Regions from separate parts of the Homo sapiens genome. Here all the other regions are linked to region 1. The links are contacts of gene promoters, found by promoter capture Hi-C in blood cells and fetal thymus (Javierre and others, 2016). All regions are on one chromosome and are shown on one strand. The core of a region is centred on a gene start or on the middle of the fragment in contact, and the rest is flanking DNA. Distances in the headings are between cores, read along the strand shown.

The links. Contacts are between HindIII fragments. The CHiCAGO score rates a contact against its expected background, and 5 or more counts as called.
Region 2: a fragment that was not itself captured here is called in contact with the fragment with the promoter of ZNF227 in region 1 in 2 of 17 cell types (naive B cells and naive CD8 T cells); the score reaches 7.1 in naive B cells.
Region 3: a fragment that was not itself captured here is called in contact with the fragment with the promoter of ZNF227 in region 1 in 2 of 17 cell types (non-activated CD4 T cells and activated CD4 T cells); the score reaches 13.0 in non-activated CD4 T cells.
Region 4: a contact is called between a fragment that was not itself captured here and the fragment with the promoter of ZNF227 in region 1, in 2 of 17 cell types (total CD4 T cells and non-activated CD4 T cells). The highest score is 6.9, in total CD4 T cells.
Region 5: a contact is called between a fragment that was not itself captured here and the fragment with the promoter of ZNF227 in region 1, in 1 of 17 cell types (total CD4 T cells). The highest score is 5.9, in total CD4 T cells.
Region 6: the fragment with the promoter of ZNF420 here is called in contact with the fragment with the promoter of ZNF227 in region 1 in 5 of 17 cell types (activated CD4 T cells, naive CD8 T cells, non-activated CD4 T cells and 2 more); the score reaches 10.5 in activated CD4 T cells.
Region 7: a contact is called between a fragment that was not itself captured here and the fragment with the promoter of ZNF227 in region 1, in 1 of 17 cell types (total CD4 T cells). The highest score is 7.3, in total CD4 T cells.

The regions. Positions count from the first base shown.
Region 1 is chr19:44,210,589-44,214,070 of GRCh38, forward strand. It overlaps ZNF227 (zinc finger protein 227), which reads left to right and starts at 1,944. Exons shown (of 6, transcript NM_182490.3): 1 at 1,944-1,997; 2 at 2,502-2,656. The HindIII fragment of the contact is 5,683 bases long and covers 1,020-3,482 here.
Region 2 is chr19:36,654,511-36,657,992 of GRCh38, forward strand. ZNF461 (zinc finger protein 461) reads right to left here. Exons shown (of 6, transcript NM_153257.5): 4 at 1,938-2,033. Among named protein-coding and RNA genes, the nearest start is that of ZNF461, 11 kb to the right of the region's middle. The HindIII fragment of the contact is 1,042 bases long and covers 1,250-2,291 here.
Region 3 is chr19:36,670,839-36,674,320 of GRCh38, forward strand. It overlaps a transcript of ZNF567 not described here. Among named protein-coding and RNA genes, the nearest start is that of ZNF461, 5.7 kb to the left of the region's middle. The HindIII fragment of the contact is 4,228 bases long and covers 1-3,482 here.
Region 4 is chr19:36,690,452-36,693,933 of GRCh38, forward strand. The region is part of intron 2 of ZNF567 (zinc finger protein 567); the gene reads left to right. Among named protein-coding and RNA genes, the nearest start is that of ZNF567, 4.6 kb to the left of the region's middle. The HindIII fragment of the contact is 1,256 bases long and covers 1,073-2,328 here.
Region 5 is chr19:51,572,334-51,575,815 of GRCh38, forward strand. It overlaps ZNF175 (zinc finger protein 175), which reads left to right. Exons shown (of 5, transcript NM_007147.4): 2 at 817-1,068. The coding sequence starts at 997. Among named protein-coding and RNA genes, the nearest start is that of ZNF175, 2.8 kb to the left of the region's middle. The HindIII fragment of the contact is 1,968 bases long and covers 519-2,486 here.
Region 6 is chr19:37,076,746-37,080,227 of GRCh38, forward strand. ZNF420 (zinc finger protein 420) reads left to right here and starts at 1,688. Exons shown (of 5, transcript NM_144689.5): 1 at 1,688-1,825. It overlaps LOC105372390 (a long non-coding RNA gene), which reads right to left and starts at 1,452. Exons shown (of 2, transcript XR_001754095.2): 1 at 1,353-1,452. RefSeq lists a silencer at 1,144-1,433 and an enhancer at 1,524-1,763. The HindIII fragment of the contact is 14,557 bases long and covers 1-3,482 here.
Region 7 is chr19:37,128,251-37,131,732 of GRCh38, forward strand. ZNF420 (zinc finger protein 420) reads left to right here. Exons shown (of 5, transcript NM_144689.5): 5 at 1-2,118. The coding sequence ends at 808. Among named protein-coding and RNA genes, the nearest start is that of ZNF585A, 43 kb to the right of the region's middle. The HindIII fragment of the contact is 4,439 bases long and covers 1-3,482 here.

The DNA.
Region 1 (3,482 bases), core at 694-3,193:
CCCAGGAGGGAAAAGAGTAGCAGGTTATGACAGAAGGAACACCAAATACAAAGAATTAGAGGCTTTTTGTAGGAGTACAAGTAATCCACTATGGCTGGACATGTAGAGTGGAAAGTGGATTCCAAGAGAGAAACAGCATCTGGAAAATTCCTGTTTGTGCGACTTGTTAAAGCATTTGAACCTTCTCTTAAGGGCACTGGATAGACATGCAGGTGAAAATAATCAAATTTCCATCTTAGGAGATATACTTAACCTCTCTCTGCCTCTGGATCCCAAAGAGTAAACTAGAGGACATTATTTGTTTTAAAAAAGTTGTGAAAATGGGCTAAGTGTGGTGGCTCATGCCTGTAATCCTAGCACTTTGGGAGGCCGGGGCGGGTGGATCACCTGAGGTCAGGAATTCAAGACTAGCCTGGCCAAGATGGCAAAACCCCGTCTCTACTAAAAATACAAAAATTAGCTGGGCGTGGTGGGGAGGGGGGTGCCTATAACCCCAGCGACTTGGGAGGCTGAGGCAGGAGACTTGCTTGAACCTTGTGTGAGGGCGGAGGTTGCAATGAGCCGAGGTCATGCCACTTCACTCCAGCCTGGGCAAAAGAGCCAAACTCTGTCTAACAACAACAACAACAACAACAACAACAAAACAGAACAAAAAAAAAAAGAAAAAAGTTGTGAAAATGTAGTGAGGGTCCCATAGTCTGAATAGTTTGAACTAGTTCCTGGCACATACTTGGTTCTTTATAAGAGATAGTTGTATATAACAGAATAAAGAATATATATTTAGTAAATGAGAACTGCAAACATGTACTGTAGTAGATATGTGGATATTTTTAGGTATTGCTCTCTTCTTTCAACCCTCAATTCTTGGAAACATCAATTCCATTATACATTTAAGCAAATAAAGATCAAGGTTTAAACACTGAAGTAATAAATTTGTTCATCTTTCAAATTCAGAAACTCCTTGAGGAATGATTACAGAGGCCCTAGTTGCTTTGTGGAGTTGATCTACCATATGCCAAAGCTTGTGTTTTCTATGTCTAGCTATCCTCAGTAAGCAAGTTGTTCTGAATTATATGACTGTGCTATTAAGAAAAGTGGAAATCCATAATATATTCTGCCTTCGTTGCATTTTTTGATTGCTCTTTCATTCTTTTAGTATCTAAAGAGTAGTTTTTCTATTAGTCGATCCTGTTAAATGTAAAAACTTAAAGGGTTTCCTCTGCCCTTTTTTTTTTTTTTTTTGGAAGTGGTGGGTATAATTCTATTAGTACAGGATCACGTGATCTGTTTCTTATAATAGTTTTTTTTTTCTTTTTTTTTTTTTTGAGACAGAGTCTCACTCTGTCGCCCAGGCTGGAGTGCAGTGGCACGATCTTGGCTCACTGCACCCTCCAGGGTTCAAGCGATTCTTATGCCTCAGCCTCCCAAGTAGCTGGGACTACAGGCGCGCGCCACCACGCCCGGCTAATTTTTATATTTTTAGTAGAGACGGGGCTTCATCATATTGGCCAAGCTGGTCTGGAACTCCTGACCTCGTGATCCGCCCGCCTCGGCCTCCCAAAGTGCTGGGAGTCTTTTTTTATTTTAGGGCTCCAATTCTTCACATATTTGCTGTTACTTTTTGTTAATAAGAAAAACCTAAATTCCACTGACATCAGAGAACTGCTTCAGCCTGGCTAAACAGCAATAAGCCGTGAAGAGGATTCTGGATGTTGTAGTCCGGGAGCTCCGAGAATTTTGTCACACTCTCCGTAACCCTCTCTCACTCGCTCGCTCCGTTTTTTTTTTTGTTTTTTTTTTTTTCAAGCGCGAAGAGGGCGGCACCTGGATGGTTTTTCCTTCTGGAAGTTCTGGGAAACGTATTCCAGAACTCTGTCCGGAAACAATTGGGCCGCAGGAGCGCGGGCCTTCTGGGAAGGGTAGTTCAGGAGCTCTGGGCAGGCAGAGCCACTTCCGCCCCGGAAAGCGAGGCCGCCACCATCTTTTGGGTCCGGGAGGTGAGTCAGCCCTGCACCCCCACGACCCCTCTTGAACCTTTTCAGCCTGTGCTTGGGAATAGGCGCTCCCCAGCCATCAGTCTTGGGATGGAGAGGTCGCGGCCGCGGCGGAGGCCGAGAGGCCGAGGGCGGGAAGTTTGCTCTCCTCCCGCACTTGGCAAGCAGCGCCGCTAGTTCTGTGGGTATAATAAACAGCGAGTTACCTATGATCCGCGCTCCTGTTTCCTCATCTTTAAAATAGCAATAAAGATAGTCGTTACTGTGTAGGGTTGTAATTAGAATTAAACAAGATAATACGGGTCAAACCTTAGAACAGTGGTGGCACCTGATACTGGGTTGGCTCCTGCTATTGATACAGTGATTCCCTCACAAGCGCCCTTTTTACTGGAAGCTCCAGTGAAGAGAGAAGAAAAGTCAGGGCTTTATGCCATGGCCTTTCTGTCGTATCCTTCAGGAGACCGAGCTCTTCCCGAACTTTTACAGATCTTTTTTTTTTTTAAGAAGGATTGAGTCATCGGGCTCCAATGCGTGGGGATGTTTACCGCCGTTTATCCGGGATAGAGACTCCATCGTGCTGACAGCATCCTTTTATTCACCGCCTCCGAATTTGCAAAGAGGAGGAAGGAGGGACTTCTTGGCTTCTCCCAGCATAGCCCCAGGTACCTGCTCTTGAACGCACTTTGTTGTTCCATTTTCTGTCCTTTCAGTTAATCAAGTTTCCGTCACTCAGTAAGTTACTACTGAAAAATGATGAAATATTTGTTGAATAAATGTGAGAGTGGGTAGGAAAACTACTTGGAAATGAGTATTACCAATAACATCTTACCACTTTGATTTTAAGGCATTCGTCTGTGGACCATAGCTATTGATGAAGTAGGTCTTGTTATTTTGTTATGAGGAAATTAGGCAGAGTTTATGTTATTAAATACTTTCCCGAAGTTATTCAACTGATAGTAAGAGGTGGATTTGGGATTGAACCCAAGCATTCCTTTTCAGACTGTGTGATCTTTTTTGTTTGTTTTTGTTTCTTTGGTTTTTGTTGTTGTTTATTTTCTATTCCTTTTTCTGAGTCTGTGGTCTTAATCTCAATGATACAGTCGTCTTCAGTTATCTTAAATAGTAATCCATATGGCTACCGGTGAGTCGTTGGAAATCAGCCTTGGGAATGTAGGTATGGATTTTACTGTGGAAGACCTCAAAAACTGCACTGATGAATTTTGAATTTTTTAGAAAAATCCTGCAACATCTCACTTACTTAATTTCATTCCATGTCAAAATATGTCATATTCTAGTTATAGAAGTAATGAATGCTCATTATAGAGATGCACTATCCAATCCAGTAGCTATAAGCCATGTGTGCCCTAGGAGCACTTGAAATGTGTCTAGTCCAAATTGAGATGTGCTGTAAGTGTTAAATACACACTGGATTTCAAAAACTTTGTACAAAAAATGTAAGATGGCTCATTGATAATTTTTTGTATTATA
Region 2 (3,482 bases), core at 521-3,020, 7.6 Mb before region 1:
TAGCATGCCACCATGCTAGGCTAATTTTTTTTTTTCTTTTTGGTACAGACAGGGTCTCACTATATTGCCCAGACTGGTCTCAAACTCCTAGGCTCAAGCAATCCTTCCACCTTGGCCACCCAAAGTGCTGGGATTACAGGCATGAGCCACCATGTTCAGCCTATAGCACTTCAATGAATCACAGACATCATCAAAGAACTCTAGCCTGTAGAATGGATCTGCCCTTGGTCTATAGCACCCCAAACTTTCCTGGTTGATCTCCTTCCTTCTCAATCATCCCTCTGCCATCTCTACCTCCTCAATATAGTCATATATTACTTTCTCTAACTTTCCTAATTTCTGATCAACACTATTTTTTTGCCTAGTGATTCTATTAGAACATCCATCCATGTATTGTTGATCCCCTGTTAGATTGAAAACGTCTCTATAACACTTTAAAAATGTATTCCCATCACCTAGCAAAGCAACTTGTATGGATCTTTTATCTATTTATTTAGAGACAGCATCTTGCAGTGTCACCTAGACTGGAGTAAAGTGGTACAATCTTGGCTCACTGTAGCCTCAAACTCCTGGGCTCAAGTGATCTCCCACCTCAGTCTGCTGAACATCTGGGACTACAGGCATGTACCACCATGCCTGGTGAATATTTTAATTTTTAATTTTTTGTAAAGACAGGGCTTTTGCTATGTTGCCCAGACTGGTCACAAACTCCTAAGCTCAAGTAATCCTCCCACCTGAGCCTCCCAAAGTGCTGAGATTACAGGTGTGAGCCACTGAGCCCAGCCTGAATCTTTTAAAAAACTAATAAGCAGGCTGGGCACAGTGGTGTATGCCTGTAATCCTAGCACTTTCAGAGGCTGAGGTGGGAGGATTGCTTAAGGAGGTCGAGACCAGCCTGGGCAATACAGTGAGACCTCATCTCTGCAAAAAATTAAAAAATTAGCCATGCATGGTGGCATGGGCCTGTAGTTCCAGCTACTCAGGAAACTTAGGTGAGAGGATTGCTTGAGCCAGGGAGGCAGAGGTTGCAGTGAGCTGAGTTTGCACCACTGTACTCCATCCAGCCTGAGTGACAGAGTGAAACCCTGTCTCAAAACAAACAAACAAAAATTAATAAACACTATAGATTGTGTCCTTTGATGTACAGAAGTTTTTAGGTTTGATGTAGTCCCATTTGTCTGTTTTTGCTTTTGTTGCCAGTGCTTTTGGTATTATACACAATAAATCATTGCCAAATCCAATGTCATGAAGCTTTTCTCCAATATTTTCTACTTAGAGTTTTATTGCTTTAGCTCTCACATTTAGGTCTTTGATCCATTCTGAGTTAATTTTTCTATATGGTGTAAGACAAGGGTACAACTGTATTCCTTTGCCTGTGGATAATCCAATTTTCTCCATGGAAGTGTTGGCACCCTTGTCTAAAATAATTTGACTATTTATGCAAGGGTTTATTTCTGGGCTTTCTATTCTATTCCTTTAGAATATCTTTTTTTTTTTTTTTTTTTGAGACGGAGTCTCGTTCTGTCGCCCAGGCGGGAGTGCTGTGGCGCGATCTCCGCTCACTGCAAGCTCCGCCTTCCGGGTTCACACCATTCTCCTGCCTCAGCCTCCCGAGTAGCTGGGACTACAGGCGCCCACCACTGCGCCCGGCTAATTTTTTGTATTTTTAGTAGAGACGGGGTTTCACCGTGGTCTCGATCTCCTGACCTCGTGATCTGCCCGCCTCGGCCTCCCAAAGTGCTGGGATTACAGGCGTGAGCCACCGCGCCCGGCCTAGAATATCTTTATGCCAGTACCACACTGTTTGATTACTATATCTTTGTAATATGTTTTGAAATCAGGTTTTCCCAAAGTTTGGTTTAAAATAAACTTGCCAGCCCAACATTCTGACCAGCTGGCCTGCTCTCTGCAAGAGCTTCCTGTGCTTGCTCACTCACCTGGGCACCATCTTCCTGTCTCTTCCCTCACAACCATCCAGGGCTCCTTCCCTTGCTCCAATGAGGAGATTACGGCTGGCTTAGAAACAGAAAGTCCTAGTTATAAGAAAAGAAATTGAGATGAGATGGAAATGAATGTATCCAAATACAGTGATTTAGAACTGATTAAAATAAAAATAAATCACAGATAAAAATGGTACTTGATAAGGGATACAGAGGAAATAAAGGAGAAGAGATGAAACACTCATATTCAGATGAACACAGGATCATAACAAACAAAGCAAACAAACAGGCGATAAAATAGTACTTAAATTTATGTAAGGTTTCTCTTTTTTGCTGTGAGGAAAAAAAAGAAGCTTCTTGAGATATTTATTCTTTTTTTTTTTTTTGAGATGGAGTTTTGCTCTTGTTGTCCAGGCTGGAGTGCAATGGCACAATCTTGGCTGACTGCAACCTCCACTTCACGGGTTCAAGTGACTCTCCTGCCTCAGCCTCCTAAGTAGCTGGGATTATAGGCGCACACCACTCTGCCTGGCTAATTTTTGTATTTTAGTAGAAACGGGGTTTGGCCCATATTGGCCAGGCTGGTCTCAAACTCCTGGCCTCAGGTGATCCACTTGCCTCAGCGTCCCAAAGTGCTGGGATTACAGGCATGAGCCACAGCACCCAGCCTCCTTTTTTTTTTTAATGTTAACTGTACAAAGTTCTTTAAAAATAACTTCCAAAGGCAAATCACTTAAAAGAGAGTACAGGTCAGGCGCGGTGGCTCACACCTGTAATCCCAGCATTTTGGGAGGCCAAGACGGGTGGATCACTTGAGATCAGGAATTCGAGACCAGCCTGGCCAACATGGTGAAACCCTGTCTCTACTAAAAATACAAAAATTAGCTGGGCGTGGTGGCGGGCACCTGTAATCCCAGCTACTCAGGAGGCTGAGGCAGGAGAATTGCTTGAACCTGGGAGGCAGAGGTTGCAGTGAGCCAAGATATGCCATTGCACTCTAGCCTGGGCAACAAAAGTGAAACTCTGTCTCAAAAAAAAATTAAAAAGGCCAGGTGCGGTGGCTCATGCCTGTAATCCCAGCACTTTGGGAGGCCGAAGCAGGTGGATCACCTGAGGTCGGGAGTTTGAGACCAGCCTGACCAACATGGAAAAAACACATCTCTACTAAAAATACAAAACTAGCCAGGCGTGTTGGCACATGCCTGTAATCACAGCTACTCGGGAGGCTGAGGCAGGAGAATTGCTTGAAGCTGGGAGGCAGAGGTTGTGGTGAGCCGAGATCACGCCATTGCACTCTAGCCTGGGCAATAAGAACGAAACTCCGTCTCAAAAATAAATAAATAAATAAAATAAAAAGTGAAAGATTACATTTATTATAGGAAATGGAGTGGTGCTCATTTGAGAATAGTAAATGAACCTTTATTACTCCAGCCTATCACTCTATTACCCAGGAAAGAAAAAAGCTTCACTCCTGGAACCCATGTGTCTAGTTTTAATCTTATGCTAGTACACTAGCAGATTTAGCACAGTGGAAGTGAAACA
Region 3 (3,482 bases), core at 556-3,055, 7.5 Mb before region 1:
CACCTGTAATCCCAGCACTTTGGGAGGCCAAGGCATGTGGATCATCTGAGGTCAGCAGTTCCAGACCAGCCTGGCCAACATGGCAAAACCCCGTCTCTACTAAAAATACAAAAATTAGCTGAACATGGTGGCATGCACCTGTAATCCCAGCTACTCGGGAGGCTGAGGCAGGAGAATTGCTTGAACCCAGGAGGCAGAGGTTGCAGTGAGCTGAGATCGCACCACTGCACTCCAGCCTGGGCGACAGAGCAAGACTCCGTCTCAAAACAAACAAACAAACAAATAAACAAAAGATACTGCACTGATCCATTACATTGATGACATTACACTGATTCAACCTAGTGAACAAGAAGTAGCAAGTACTCTAGATTTATTGTTAAGACATTGCATGTCAGAGGATGGAAATAAACCCAACAAGAAATCAGGGGCCTTCTACCTCACTGAAATTCCCAGAGGTCGGGTGGTGTGGAGCATGGTGAGATATCCCTTCTAAGATGAAGTATAAATTGTTCCATCTGGCTCCTCCTACAGTCAAAAAGGAGGCACAATGCAAAGGGGGTCTCTTCGGATTTTGGAAGCAACGCATTCCTCACTTGGATGTGTTATTCTGCTGGCCATTTACCAAGTGATCCAAAAAACTGTTAGTTTACAGCGGGGCCCAGAACAAAGGAAAACTCCCCAACAGGACCAGGCTGCTGTGCAAGCTGATGTGCCACTTGGGCCACATGATCCAACAAATCTAATGGTGCCTCAAGTGTCAGTAGCAGAGAGGGATGCCGTTTGGAGCCTTTGGCAGGGCCCAGCAGAGGAATCACAGTGCAGGCCCTGAGGATTTTGGAGCAAAGCCCTATCTTCCTTTTTAGAAAACGACTCTTCAGAGGCAGCTTTTGGCCTCCTACTGGACCTTAGTAGAGACTGAACATTTAATCATGGGCCACGAAGTTACCATGCAACCTGCACTACCCATCAGGAAATGGGTGTTACCTGACCCACCAAGTCATTAAATTGAGTGTACACAGCAGTACTCCATCATAAAATTTAAGTGGTATAAATGTGATCAGGCCTAAGCAGGCCCTGAAGGCACACATGTGAAGAAGTGGCCCAAAAGCCCATCGTCCCCCCTCTTGCTACAATACCTTTCTCTCCCAGCCTGCACTCGTGGCCTCATGGGGAGTTCCCTATGATCAGTTGATAGAGGTAGAGAAGACTCAGGCCTGGTTTACAGATGGTTCTGCATGATAGACAGATACCACCTGGACAGCGCTACAGTCCTGTTCTGGGACATCCCCAAAGAACAGTGGTGAAGGGAAATCCTCCCAGTGATTGGAACTCTGAGCACCGCACCTGGTTGTTCATTTTTCCTAGAAGGAGAAATAGCCAGATGTGACATTATATACCAACTCATGCACTGTAGCCAATGGTCTGGCTGGATGGTCAGGAACTTGGAAGGAACATTATTTAAAAACTGGTGACAAGGAATTCTAGGGAAGAGATATGGACCTCGCTGAACAGGTAAAAAATATAAAGATATTTGTGCCCTATGTGAATACTTACCAAAGGGTAACCTTAGCAGAGGATGTTTCATAATCGGGTGTATAGGATGACCCATTCTGTGGATATCAGTCAGCCTCTTTACCAAGCTACCCTTATCATCACCCAATTGGCTCATGAACAAAGTGGTCATGATGGCAGTGATGAAAGTTATGCATGGGCTCAGCAACATGGACTTCTGCTCACCAAAGCCAAACTGGCTACAGCTACTGCTGAGTGCCCAGTCTGCTGGCAGCCAAGACCAACATTGGCTCCCCAATATGGCACCATTCCCTGGTGGCAGGCTGATACATTGGATTGCTTCCATCATGGAAGGGGTAGTATTTTTTTCTTACTGGAATACACACTTTAGATACAAATTTGCCTTCCTGACACAAAATGCTTCTGCCAAAACTACCATCCAGACCCTTAACGAATGAAGGTTTGGGTCACCCCACCAGTTAAAGAACCACAATCAGCTGAGGAGCTCGCTTGCTGAGGGAAAAAGGAATACATAATGGATAATGGAAGAAGGTAGGTATGAATACCAGCTATAACCACGTGAGCAGTTACAGAAACAAAGACTAATTGTCATGAATGTGTCTTCTTTATTTTATAATGAATGTGTATACAACACAGCTTTGTTTTCATCCCTTTCATATCTCTTTATCATGTACAGTATGATATACTGACTTTATATTAGAGTATTTAAATATTGTTAACTTTATATCAGTTTTTAAGTTATGGGATATCAGGGAGAAGCATTAACATCATCCAGACTTTGCATCCTCTTCTGGGGAAGTGTTAGTTATTTTTGGTTTTATGCAGGATAGTTGTATCATGTTAAGCAGAAGTATAACCTTGTTACTGCCTTTATTCAGATATGAAGTATGGTTTTAGGAGATGCTTATGGGTACCAAGTCGACAAGGGTGGACTTATGATGGTTAATTTTATGTGTCAACTTGACTGGGCCATGATGCCCAGATATTTGGTCAAACATTATTCTGGATGTTTCTGTGAAAGGTGTTTTTTTGGATGAGAGTAACACTTAAATCAGTGGACTCTGAATAAAGCAGATTACGCTCCACACAATGGATGAGCCTCATTCAATCAGCTAAAGTTCTTAATAGTACAAAGGCTAATGTCTGAGCAAGAGGGAATTGTGTTAGCAGACTGCCTTTAGACTTCGAATCACAACTGTTTTCTGGGTCTTCAGCCTGCTGGCCTGCCTTGCAGATTTTGGACGTACCAAGGCTCCACAATTGCATGAGCCAGTTCCTTAAAATAAATCTTTCTGTGTGCATGCATACACACAGACACAGACACAGACACACACACACACACACACCCTGTTTGTTCTGTTTCTCTAGAGAACCTTAATATACTATCCTAAGTATTTTACATGTATAGTGTCATTTAACTCCCCTCAGAACCCTGAGGGAGTTATTGATACCTTTCCCGGTAAACTGATGATGCAGGTGAGGCATCAAGAGCTTAAATAACTTGTAAAATGTCACAGAGTTCCTAAGAGAAGGAACTGGAATTTGAATTTCAAAGTCCTCAGTCTTTAACTATTAGATTACCATTTTCTAACTTGACACCTTCTATTCTATATCCCACCCGCTTCACAAAGCCATTCCTGATGAGTGCCAACTAATTTGGAATGAAAATCATTAGGATTATGGGTTCTATTATATGATATTTAACACACTGTTTATTCTCAAACATTTTTATTTACTAATTATTATCAGGAATTCTTCAATGGCATTCTTGTAATACTATTTAGTTCATTTTTATAATTACTTCCTAAGAGACAAATTGTCCTAGAAGTGGGGGGTTTCTGAGTAAGACACTGGCATGCCTGGCAACATGCAAGACCTTGTGCTTCAATACTTGGAAGAAGCACAAATTACTAAGATATAATTGCTGCTTTTGTATTGCTTATAATTCA
Region 4 (3,482 bases), core at 451-2,950, 7.5 Mb before region 1:
CGTAGTGGCACGCCCCTGTGGCTAGCTACTCAGGAGACTGAGGTGGGAGGATCACCTGAGCCCAGGGAGGTCGAGGCTGCAGTGAGCCGTGATCACACCACTGCACTCCAGCCTGGGCAACAGAGTGAGACTTTGTTTCAAAACAAAACAAAAGAAACTATAAAACTCTTAGGAAAAAACACATAGGCATACATCTTAATGATCTTAAATTTGGCATGCATTCTTTTGGAGTTTCTTTCATGGTGATTGAAATGTTCTAAAATTAGGTTGTGGATGATTGTTCATTATGATGGTTTGTGAATATACCAACAACCATTGAATCGTATACTTTAGATGGATGAATTTTATGGTGTGTAAATTATATCTCAATGCTGTCATTTAAAAAATCTTGGCTAGGCCACCTCTGCAATGTGTAACACTGAGCAAGCCATGAGTGTCTCCTGTGTTAGTCATGTTAGTCAATTTCAGGTATAATAGGACCTACCTCACTCAGGGTTTTTGTGAGGGTCATTGGATCTACATCACAGGGAATTATTTTGGAAAGTGTAAAGAAATAATTGAATTCCAAATATCCAAGAGAAGGAAACTGGTTGGATTAACCAAGTACAGTGCCACTGAGGAGTATTATGCAGCCATGAAAAGGGATCAGTTGCATGGATTTATGGAGAAGGGCCTCCAGGATACTTTGGATTTTTTTGTTTTCTTGTTTTGTTTGTTTGTTTCTGAGACAAGGTCTCCCTCCGTTGCCCAGGCTGGAGTGCAGTGGCTTGATCATGGCTCACTGCAGCCTCGATCTCCCTGGGCTCAGGTGATCCTCCCACCTCAGCCTCCCAAGTAGCTGGGACTACAGGCATGTACAACCATACCTGGCTAATTTTATTTTATTTTATTTTTGTACAGTTGGGGGTCTTGCTATGTTTCCTAGGCTGTTCTTGAACTCCTAGGCTCAAGTGATCTGCCCACCTTGGCCTCCTCAGGTGCTGGGATTATAGGTGTGAGCTACCTTGCCTGGCCTCCAGGATACTTTGTTAGTGACAAAAGCAACCGAATATTATATTCTATCTTTTATCTAAGCTTTCAGCTTATCCTTTCATTATTTTAATATAAGCAAATGTATATATTTGGATTTTTTTAAACTCATGTCACCACCATCACCCAAATTTAAAAAGAAAACAAAAACAGAACACTTCTAGCCCCCATCCAATCACCCTGGCACAGAAGTAACCTCTGTTGTAATTTCATCTCATATAAAAGGAGTCATGCAGAATGTAGCCTTTTGAGTCTGGCTTCATTCAGTAAGGATGTTGCAATTAGTAAACTGTAGCTGGGACTACAAGTACATGCCATCATGCTGGCTAATTTGTGTATTTTTATTTTGCAGAGACAGAGTCTCACTATGTTGCCCAGGCTGGTCTCGAACTCCTGAGCTCATGCAATCCTCCTGCCTTGTCTTCCCAAAGTGCTGGGATTACAGGCATGAGCTCAGTTCAGTTGCATGTTGCAATTCACTCATATTATTGCATGTATCATTGCTTCATTCTTCTTAGTATAAAGTAGTATTCCATTGTCTGGATGGATCACAGTTGGTTTGTCTGTGTATCCATTGATGCACACTTGGGTTGTTTCCAGTTCTGAGGTGGTTATGAATAAAACTGCTACGAACATTCACATTCGGGTCTTTTTGTAGATACATGTCTTTGTTTGTCATGGATAGATACTCAGGAGTGGTATTGATGGGTCGTTTAAACAATTACTTTAAAATGGTATCTTTACATGGAATAGTTTTGCCTCTTGATTGTGGTGGTGGTGACACAAATCTAAATGTGTGATAAAATGGTAAAAACACGCACATAATGAATGCATGGAAAACTAGTGATATCTGAAAGAAGTTGGTGCATTGTGTAATGACAATTTTCTGATTTTTTGTTTTTATTTTTTAGAGACAGAGTCTTGCTCTGTTGTCCAGGTCGAAGTACAGTGGCACAGTCATAGTTCATTGTAGCCTCAAACTCCTGGGCTTAAGTGACCCTCCTGCCTCAGCCTCCTGAGTAGCTGGGACTACAGGTACACGCCCCCATGCTGGCTAATTTGTGTATTTTTATTTTGTAGAGACAGAGTCTCACTATGTTTCCCAGGCTGGTCTCAAACTCCTAAGCTCATGCGATCTTACTGCCTTGTGCTCCCAAAGTGATGGGATTACAGGCATGAGCTACCTACTGTGCTCAACCAGTTTTCTGATTTTGACCATATGCTATGGTTATGGAAGATGTGACCATTGTGGAGACGCTAGGTGAAAGGTGAATGAGACCTCTCTGCACTATTTTTGCAAGCTTCTGTGGATCTATAATCATTTCAAAATAAAAATAAATAAATTTTAAAAAGAGCCTGCTGCAAGACTGAGAAGTGCCTATGGTGTCTGATTCCCTGTCGTTGGGCATGGATTCTGTTTCCTACTCTGGGCCCTTTTGGACAAAGCCATGCAGAATATCTTATCCCATACCTGCCCCTGTGAGCCACTTACTCTTTCTCAAAGTTTTCAGCAACCCTGGGAGTAGGCGGTATGTGGTGGTTCACACCTATAATCCCAGCACTTTGGGAAGCCAAGGCAGGAAGATCGCTTGAGCCCAGGAATTGGAGACTAGCCTAAGCAACATAGTAAGACCCCATTTCTACCAAAAAAAAAAAAGTTAGCCGGTCTTGATGGCATGCGCCTGTAGTCCCAGCTACCCAGGAGGCTGAGATAGGAGGATCACTTGAGCCCAGTGAGGCCGACGCTGCAATGAGCGGTGATAGGCCACTGCACTCCATCCTGGGCAACAGAGTGAGACCCTGTCTCAAAAACAAAAAAATTAAAATTAAAAAATAATTAGCTGGATGTGGGTGGTACATGCCTATGGTCCCTGCTATGCAAGAGGGAGAATTGCTTGAGCTGAGGAAGTCGAGGCTGCAGTGAGCCATGATCATGCCACTGTATTCTAGCCTAGGCAAAGAGTGAGACCCTGTCTCAAAAATAAAATAAAAATAAGACTTGAATAAAAGGACAGGAAGACACAACATGATAAAATGTCAAAACTTCCTTACATTTCATGGATTTCCATTAAAATTTTAATAAAAATGTTTGAACTTTCTAGCATTGTTAGGAGAAAATAAACACCAAAAATTCTGAGAGAGAAAAACTGTCAAGGAAGTAGCCCTAGTAGATACTAAGCTGTTTTAAAACTGATAACTGTAAGGTGATCCTGGCAATTAAATGAACAGTTCAGTGGAAATAAATATAAAGCCCAGCTCTACTTAGATATATGAAGGACATAAAATATGTGATAAAGATGGCAGTTTTGATGATTGAAGGAAATACAGATTCTGGAGTACTTTGTGATACCAAACTAGATGGCCAAATAATTTTTAAAATTGTATTTTTACATAGAAAAAAAACAGTCAAATGAGAAACTATAAAAAATTATTTGGGGCCGGGCACAATGGCT
Region 5 (3,482 bases), core at 253-2,752, 7.4 Mb after region 1:
CGGTGGGGGCAACTTATTGTGGACAGGCAAGAAATGGTAACTGGAGGCCCTGATGCATGTCTGCAAATTTTCTGTGTCAAGATGGGGATTGGGACAGTGATTTTAAGTTTTAGCTCTAGTCAGAAGAGGCTGGTCTGTGTGTGGTGTATTATGGACGGGGACTGAAAAGTCCAGAAGCTCAGAATAGGTACACCAGACAGAGCCACCTCCCGGCCTGAGTTCTATGAAGGCAACAGAAAGAGGAAATGGTGTTTCTGGAAGCTGGCCACGTATGGGTACATGAGATAGTGGAGACAGTGTACAGTTTAGAACAAGGCAGATGTGGGGCTGATTCCCTGTTTTTCCATTTACAGACTGAGTAACCTTCAGGCAAATTATGTAACAGCACACAGCCTCATTATCCTCATCCTCAAAATGGGTATGATAATGCCCATGATATTTAGCTGACAATTAAATTGACAACTTTCTTTTTTTAATTCATATTTATCACGTGCCAGGCAGGCACTGAGGACTTGACAAGCTTCATCTTGGTTAAGTTTCCCAACATCTGTGATAAATACCTGCATTTTCATTTTGGAAACTACAACTAAAGTAATATTTTCATATTCTCACAGTGAAAATGTGGCAAAGCTGCAATGAATTCACCATTTAGTCCAGACTCAGTCTTTATTTTTAACCCTGACTAATAACTAGAGTTGGGCTTTCTGAACTTTGTCTACTCCAATGTCTGACACAGTGACTTCACCTCAGTGCCCTCAGGAAATATTTGTGGAGTGAATGTTGAATGAGTGACCATGTACTCATTGCTTTTCCAAGGCTTCTGCAGAACCCCCAGGTCAGGCCACATCATTGAGGCTGCAGGATCTCTCTTCATAGCCCAGTACGACTCTCCGCCGTGTCCCTGGTTGGAAAATCCAAACACCTATCCAGCTTCTGGCTCCTGGGAAAAGTGGAGTTGTCAGCAAGAGAGACCGAGAGTAGAAGCCCAGAGTGGAGATGCCTGCTGATGTGAATTTATCCCAGAAGCCTCAGGTCCTGGGTCCAGAGAAGCAGGATGGATCTTGCGAGGTAAACAGGGGCAGCCCTGGGGATAGTTCTCCAGAACGTGAGGGCAGACACAGGATGCAGCAGGTCTGGGCTCCCTGCTCCTGAGTCAGTCTTGAGCCTCCTGTCAAGCGAGGACCACAGAGGCTGATGTTTCCACATTCATAGGCTATCTGTGTTCTAGAGGAAACCATGAACTGGCTGATAAAAGAGGATAGTAGAGGGTTGGCCTTGGGTCAAGAAAGAAGAAACTGTAGTCCCTGGTCTGATCAGAAGCCCCAGTCATAGGATGGAAAAGCTGACTCTTTCCTGCTAAGCACTGGTTCTGCTCCTTCATCCACCACTGGGTCTTTGAAAAATTTCAAGTGGTCCCCCCCACCAAATTCCTTGCTTGGTCCATGGGGTTTGGCCCGTTTTTCCTCTGTTCTCATAAGGTGCGGCAAAATCTCCTTCCTTTGTAATTTAAATAGTCACAGGGAGGTAGAGTGAGAAGAGGCTTTTAAGGACCATGTGAAGAGGCTTTTAAACACTTTTTCCTGTTTAAAAAGGTGAACAAAAAATGCTGGAAAACAGTGTTTCCAGATTGCCCACAGATAGAAATAGTCAGGATTTGGTAACAAGAAATCAGAATTCTTGGTATAGTCAAGATTTCCTGAAATCCTAAATTATTCTGTGTATCTCTTGATGCTTTATTTACAAGTCTTTAAATAGTATGTGACTATAATAGTAAACAGTGTACCATTGTTCTGTGATGGGTTTATAACCAAATTTACAGAGATGTTCTGTTTTTTAAAAAAAGTATAATAAATATGTGTGTTATTATCCTGAACCAATATATTGTGAGATTATATATTTCAGTAACCTGTTAAAATCATCTCAACCTGCTAGAAACATTTGATAATAGAAAGTATTAAAAGAAGGGAACATTAACACAAAATAAATTGCACATATAAATCATTTTCAAAATTGTAAATACCCCAAATATTTAAAAGTCGTTCTTAAAAGAAAAATTGAAACATACAAGTTTAGGTGGGGCACAGTGGCTCATGCACTTTGGGAGGCCGAGGCGGGCGGATCACTTGAGCCCAGGAGTTGGAGACCAGCCTGGGCAACATGGCGAGACTCTACAAAAATACAAAAATTAGCCAGGTGTGGTGGCATGCACCTGTAGTCCCAGCTACTGAGTACGTTGACGTGGGAGGATCACCTGAGCTTGAGGCGGTCAAGGTTGCAGTGAGCTGCAATCATGACACTACACTCCAGCCTGGGCAATAGAGTGAGACCCTGTCTCAAAACAAAACAAGTTTAAAACATGAAATTGTCTAAGTCTTTGTGACAGCAGTGCAGATGCACAAACGTTTCTCTCATTTGCATTGATGTTGGTCAACTTGCGTGTTCAGAACATCTTCAAGTTTAGCGTTTTAGGACACATGTTCAATATAAGCTTTTTTCCTTTTTTAACAATGAAATTTTTTTTCTGCTTGACCTGATTTCCAGTTTATCATTTGAATCAATACTGCTGTCGCTAATTCAGATTTTCCATCAGTGTCTGAATTCATGTCAGAGTATATCCCAGTACCATGCACATTATCTTCTCTTTGTGGTGTGTATTTCCCTCTGCTCTGGACAGTACTATTTTTATTTTGTTATTTTTATCTTTTCTAATGTGATGGAAATAAAGATAGTATAGTGTTTTAATTTGCATTACTTTGTTTACAAACAGGCTTTTTTTTCATAATTTTATTGGTCAATTACTTGTCTTTAGTGAGTTACTTTTTCTTACCTTTTGATTTATATTTTGGTTTGGTTTAGCCTCCGGATTTTTAGAGAGGTTTTTTTTTTTTTTTTTTTTTTTTTGAGACGGAGTCTCGCTCTGAAGCGCAGGCTGGAGTGCAGTGGCGCAATCTCTGCTCACTGCAAGCTGCACCTCCCGGGTTAACGCCGTTCTCCTGCCTTAGCCTCCTGAATAGCTGGGAGTACAGGCGCCTGACAGCACTGCTGGCTAATTTTTTTGTATTTTTAGTAGAGATGAGGTTTCACCATGTTAGCCAAGATGGTCTTGATCTCCTGACCTCGTGATCCGCCTGCCTCAGTGTCCCAAGAGAGTTCTTACACAGTAATAACCTAAGGTCCTTTTTGCATATGTTTGTAAATACTTTTTGTTACTTTTTCCTTTGAAAGTAGGTTTTAGTTTTGTTTGAACATAGGAAAGAGGATCAGATGGTTTTGTGAAGCCTGTAATCTTTTAAAAGGGCTGTCACTTGCTATATTTTTACCAAAGTTCCAGCTCCTCCCAGGCAATCACATTTTACATTTTTAGCTAATTATTTTGGCATTTACCTCCTAATCTTTTAGTGACATGCTTATATTGCTGCCTCTTGGATTGTTAATTAACACGTTAATTAATTAAGAAACATGTCATTAAAAGGTTTGCTTTT
Region 6 (3,482 bases), core at 438-2,937, 7.1 Mb before region 1:
GCCACATTTTCTTAATCCAGTCTATCATTGATGGACATTTGGGTTGGTTCCAAGTCTTTGCTATCGTGAATAGTGCCGCAATAAACATACGTGTGCATGTGAATTGGACATAATTCTTGCCTGACTTTGACCCACTCTAACTCAGTGCAATTTAATTATCTATATTTCACATAGCTATGCCTGATCACACACACAGGTTCATTCCCTCAAGAATTCTGATCACCAAATTTGCTATTCCAGTCACATTACCGGTAAGAGATCAATGTATTTGATATATGGTCTTGCAAGACCAAGTTTTATTAATTTTTTTCCCTCTGAAGGAGTGGTGAAATTATACTCTATCTTCTCTGTGCTGGAAGTTCACAAGTTTTTGATTATTCAAAAATCATAAAAGGCCAAGAGGTCTTGAAGTAAGTAAAAATAAGTTCAGGTTTACCAACAAACTCTACAGCCTTAAGTTACTTTCTGCCGGCCAAGGTTTTCTCATCAGAAAATGAGGACAAGTGTTTGACCTAGAATTTGGGAAATCTGACTAGTGCTGTACTGTGCTAAAATTCACTCTTCTTATGTATAACGTTGTTTTATTATTTTATTAGTTGATGGCCTCTCAACCGTACCCAGTAATAAGAGAAACTTTACCCTCTAATTAGAAAATAATGGATATCTACTTTTGGCCTGCTGTGGCAGAGGAAAAGGCAGTTACCCTAGGACTGGTTTTGAAATAATCTTTCTAAAAACAAAGAAAAAACTACGTTAATTTTGGATTCTTCCCGATAACACATATATTTGATCCAATAGAAAAATGATGTCTAAATTACTTGTCAGATAAATTGATTATCTTTTCCAGATTATTACATTACTATTTAAGGAAGAAATAACTTGGCCATAGTATTTTCACTGTCACACACGATCACACACAGCTCATTTGCTCTTGGCACCCTTACAGACACTGAAATACAAGCACAAAGAAAGCACGTTTATATAACACAGATCACCAGTTACTCAATTACGGCCACACACAAAAAAGCAGATATACATACAGATACCCTTCATAAGCAAACCACAATAGAGATCTGTGTAAAATCGTCTTACTCTGTTAGACGATTCTACACAGTTATAAAATCCCATTACTACGCAGCTTAAAGTACAAATCACCTCACACCCCACAGCAGGAAGAATCACACACAGGCAGAAACACAACCATACACACCCGGCCACGGAAAGACTCTCAGTCCACCTGGCATCTCCCATTGTCACACACACCCCAAGGGCCTGGGAGGGCACACACAGGGTCCTCTGCAAATCCGAGGTTCCGGCGGGTCCCCGCACCGGCCCCAGCTCCTCCCCCGCACCTGCCTGGCCGGCGGGTCCCACCCTCTCTCCTGCCAGGGGTAGACCCTGGGACCACTCAGCTCGCTCTCGCAGGCCCTGAGCGTCTGACGCCTGCGCACTGAGCGCGGGCGGGCGGGCACTCCCAGAAACCTCCGGGGCGCTGCAGGCGGGACAAGCAGGTTCCACAGGCCGAGCCCACGAGCCCCTCGAGGGGTGAGCGGCCCGGGCCTCCTGGCGTTCTGGCCGGCTAGCCAAGCGCTGGACTACATTTCCCAGAGGCACGGCGTCCGGAGCGCTGGACTACATTTCCCAGAGGCACCGCTCCCGGAGCGTAGCTTCATTTCCGTTAGTTTGCGAGATTTGGAGGCCTCGCGTGGGGAGAGGGCCGCGTCTGTGGAGGAGCTTGGCTCCGCACCTGCTGGGCTGGCGAACCCGAAATTGGGCTTGGAACCCGGGAGCCAGATCTTGGACCCTGAACTGCACCTCTGTCAAGGTAGGAGTGTCCGGGATGCCGGAGCGGACACGCGCGGAGAAAGCGTCGCTGGGGTTACTCGTGTGGCCGTGTCTCCGGTTTTGTGTGCAGGCTACAGCCTGCCTGGTATTGGCGACTGCCTGTGCATACACGACTGGACGTGTGTGGCTGTGGTTTTGTGTATGAGCATTTGTATGAGTGTGAGTTGTGACTCTGAGGGTGTTTGTGACTGTTTGCTTACCTGGCTGGGATATACTTATGTGACTGTGATTTTATGTGTGCCGCGTGTATAATTGGGGTTTGCCTGTGACTATGAAGTGTGTGACAGTTGTGACAAGAGTGTTTGGATGTTCTTGTGTCACTTTGAGGTTGTGTGTAAACCTGATATCGTGGGATGGATTTGCCAGTAAATTTAAGGTGTGTGACAGTGTTGCTGTGACACGGTGTTTATTACCGCGTGTTTCCCTGATTTCGTACTGGGTTGGGTGACTGTCTGATTGTGTGTGACTGTGGGGTTGTGTGTGCTGTTTTCATGACTGTGTAAAGAGACTAAAATTGCAGCTTTGAAAGGGTGTTTTTGGCGGTATGTGTCTCTGACAAGGTGCTTGGATGTAATTATATGCCTTGTACTTAATGGGATTTTGTTTGAGACAAGGTGGTCTAACAATGTAGCATAATTGGGTGATTGTGCCTCTAGCTGTGTAACTGTGGAAATGTGATTATGTGTGACTTTATGTGGCCATTTGTATATTCTGTGACCTTATGGGGGTTTAGTCCAGTACAGAAGTAAATTTCTTTTTGGTATTTCTGGGGTTCATTTGGGGCTGAGGTCTGCCTATGGATTGTGAGTCCCATGTGGCTCTGTGCTCCTCCCATGTGGCTCTGAGGACTTAAGGACTTTTTGATTTGACCACAGTGGCTGCCCTTTCATCCATGGCCTGTATTGCTTCATTTCTGTATCCATCCTCGGTTCACCTTGGGAAATGTAGTTACTTACGAGTTCACGACTTCTTCCCTGCGTCCTCTTGCCTTATAGCCTTAAGGGGATTGGGTGCAGGGAAGTGGCAAGAAGTAAGGAAGTCAGACATTTGGACACCTGAGTGATGAATAGGAGTTATTTGCAAGTTACAGACCTGGTCTTAGGATGAGAATTTTAGGGCTGATAATACCTTCAAGACAGCCACTGGATGCTGTGCGCGGTGGCTCACATCTGTAATCCCAGCGCTTTGGGAGGCAGAGGCGGGTGGATTACCTGAGGTCATGGTTTCACCATGACCTCTACTAAAAATACAAAATTAGCTGGGCGTGGTGGCGCATGCCTGTAATCCCAGCTACTTAGGAGGCTGAGGCAGGAGAATTGCTTGAACCCGGGAGGCGGAGGTTGCAGTGAGCCAAGATCAAGCCACTGCACTCCAGCCTGGGCAACAAGAGTGAAACTCATTCTCTAAATAAATAAATAAATAGGCCACTGGAAATATAATGGGACTCCAGGAGTGGGAATAGTTTCAGAGGGAGTGCTTTAGGAGACAGCCACCCAGTTCTGAACCTGAAGCACCCCACTGCAGGACTGTCTCCAGTGTACAGCTTTGAATACAGAAATAAATTCAAGCCCAAGACAGCTGTGACCTGGCCCTTCTTTCTGATACAGAAGGTAGAAGACTTATTCTAGTCTCCTCCT
Region 7 (3,482 bases), core at 652-3,151, 7.1 Mb before region 1:
ATGTAAGGAATGTGGAAAAGCGTTTAATCGTGGCTCACTCCTTACACGACACCAGAGGATTCATACTGGTGAGAAACCCTATGAATGTAAAGAATGTGGAAAAACCTTTAGTCGTGGCTCAGAACTTACTCAACATGAGCGAATTCACACAGGTGAGAAACCCTATGAATGTAAGGAATGTGGGAAATCTTTTATTCGTGGTTCCCAGCTTACTCAACATCAGAGAATCCATACTGGTGAGAAACCTTATGAATGTAAAGAATGTAGAATGGCCTTTACTCAGAGTTCACATCTTTCCCAACATCAAAGACTTCACACTGGTGAGAAACCCTATGTGTGTAATGAATGTGGAAAGGCCTTTGCGCGTGGCTTACTACTTATACAACATCAGAGAATTCATACTGGTGAGAAACCATATCAATGTAAGGAATGTGGGAAAGCCTTTATTCGTGGTTCACAGTTGACTCAACATCAGCGAATTCACACTGGAGAAAAACCCTATGAATGCAAGGAGTGTGGCAAGGCCTTTAGTCATGGCTCTCAGCTTACTCTACATCAGAGAATCCATACTGGTGAGAAGCCCTATGAATGCAGAGAATGTAGAAAGGCCTTTACTCAGAGTTCACATCTTTCTCGGCATCAGAGAATTCATACTGGTGAGAAACCATATCAATGTAAGGAATGTGGGAAGGCCTTTACTCGTGGTTCACAGCTAACTCAACATCAGAGAATTCATATCAGTGAGAAATCTTTTGAATATAAGGAATGTGGGATTGACTTTAGTCATGGCTCACAAGTTTACATGTGAATTGTCTGATTATTTGAGATCACTATGAAGAGGTTCTCTGGTTGTTAGCAGCAAAGAATTCTCACAAATGTGAATATGGGCGCACATTTGCCTCATAAAGCACAGCATCAGATAATTTATGTGAGAGAAAATGGTAGTGTCATTCATATAGAAAAACATCATTACTGGAAACCTATTAAACATTAGCAAATTGGAGAATAGTTTTAATATAGTAAATGTAGGAAGCCCTTTAGCCATATTGAAAACAAATATCTTTTTCAACGTTATCTTAGCTCTACTAGTTGATCTTTTTGTTATATGTATCATGATACTTAACCTCTACCTTGGTTTAATCATTTTAAGATAGACCTAAGTATATTACCTTTATTGTAAGATTCTTGGAAGTATTATGTAAGTTATTACATGTAAAAGCTCTTAGAATGGTGCCTTGAACGTAGCATACCACAAATATTAGCTACCATTTTCACTAGTGTTATTTTAGAGAATTTGCATGAGAGGAGAGTACTTATGAGTATAATGAATATTGAGAAATCTTTTATCAACACATCCAAGATGACTTGGTTGGGGGGCACTGTATGCCATAATGAATGTGAGAAAGCTGTCATTTAAATCTCATCCATTATTGCTATAAGAGGAAATTCATACTGTTAAAAAAAAAAAAACCCAGTGGATATAATCAGTGTATTATTAAAAAAAAAAAAACCCAGTGGATGTAATCAGTGTATTATTGAGCACAGCTGTTAGAGAAGTGGGACAAGGTGTGAAGTGATTTTTAACGAAGTCTAAGATCCAAAGTCTAATAAATCTAGGAATTTTTTAAAAACTTGAATGTATTGCTTTTGAAGTAAACAAAATAACTGATATTACAGACTATTTTGCAATGAAAAATGATGAGAGTTTGTGATACAGACTGCTTTTTTCCTACCCTATATCTATTTTCTCTTTTTTAGTAACAAATTTCTGGGCTGAAAATCTCAGCCTTCCTTGCAGGTCAACAAGATAGAAGTGATATTTATATGAGTAGGAGATTTACGAAATCCATTTTTCCTGTCTTTTTTTCCGTGCCTACAATGTGGACATCTAAGCTGGAGCTCCGTTACTCTCATGGGGACTTTGAGAATGGTATCTGGGTGTTATGGATCATGGAGCAGAAATACAGAAGGAGTCTGCAACCCTGATGACTTTGTGGAACAGCCATACTAGCTCTGGTCTGCTTGCCTCCTGTTTCTCTTTAAATAAAATTAAACATCTTATTTGTTGATGCTATTGTAGTTCTGTTATTGACAATAAAAATTCTTAAGGATATAAAATTTTGTACCTGGAAGTGGGATGCTATGGGTAAAAGAAATCTCAAATGGGGTATTGACTTAGGGCCATTGAGAATGAGGAACTGCCCAAATTAAGCTAGGAATTTGAAGATTCTTGTTTTAATAGGCAGGATGTTTTGTCACTGCCTCCCACTCTTACAAGCATGCTTTATATCAGTTGATGCTATAATGTTAGAGGAAATGCTAGAAGTGATTCAGAATATGTGTGTTGCATGTTTCTTGCTGCTTTCAGTAATGTCTTGTGAACGAGATAAATTTAGAGTAGAGCTAGGCAGCCCACTAGCAGCAATTGAAAGCAATATTGCTTTGGTAAGATGTTATCTATGATGGCAAGCCCTCAATCCTCCACCCTTAATCCACTTACAGTGATTTAATGTGACAACCTGAACAAGAAATCAGACCACTGCCAATGCATACAAAGGCAGTCTGCTAGTAAATATGGTTATGTTTTCCTCACAGGAGCCTATTGTTCTAAAAGTAGTCAGTTATTAGGTACTTAATATATTCCAGCCACTATCTTAGGTGTTTTGGATATTTGTCAGTGAACAATTCTAACAGGAGGAGATAATCATACACACAGAGTATGTTAGAATATAAGTGTTATGGGGAAAAAGTCATTGAAAAGACAATGGGAGGGATATGATCATTTAGATTGCTTTGTGAAATACAGTGATCAAGGTAGACCATCAAGAAGGATAGACTTGAGCCAAGACTTGAAGGAGTGTGGTGATTCCAGGCAGAGGAGAGAGGTCCTACAATGGGACTACACTGAAGTGTTTTAGGAAAAGTGGAGAAGTTATTGAAGAACACTGTGCAAAGGGATGGTTGCTAGAGCAGAACTGAGAGATAACAGAGAGCTATGTCTTGCCAAGCGTGCAAGCCATTGGAAAGATACTTTATTTTGAGGGAAACACAACTGTTGAAAAAAATCGATGAGGAGGTTGTAGTAACTCAGATGAAAGAGGATGTCATGGCTTCGGAAGAAGAGGTAACAATGGGTATAGTGGTTATTGGTTGTATTCTAGGTATATAGTAAATGTGACAGCAAGCAAGATTTGTTTAAGGGCTAGATGTAAAAGAGACAAGTCTAGGGTGACTTTAAGTCAAAGATTTTAGTCTTGAGCATCTGGGAATACAATGTTTTCATCAACCAGGATGGAGAAAACTTCAGTTCCAGGGTTTTAGGGGAAGATTGAGAGTTCAACTTTGAACATGTTGAATCTGTAGATGTCTTTTAAGACACAAAATGGCAGTAGTGAGTAGGCACTTCATGTATGAGATATACCTAACTTGGTATTATATTACTTTAGTAGGTATTGCCCATATTTATTTAAATGATTAGGGTT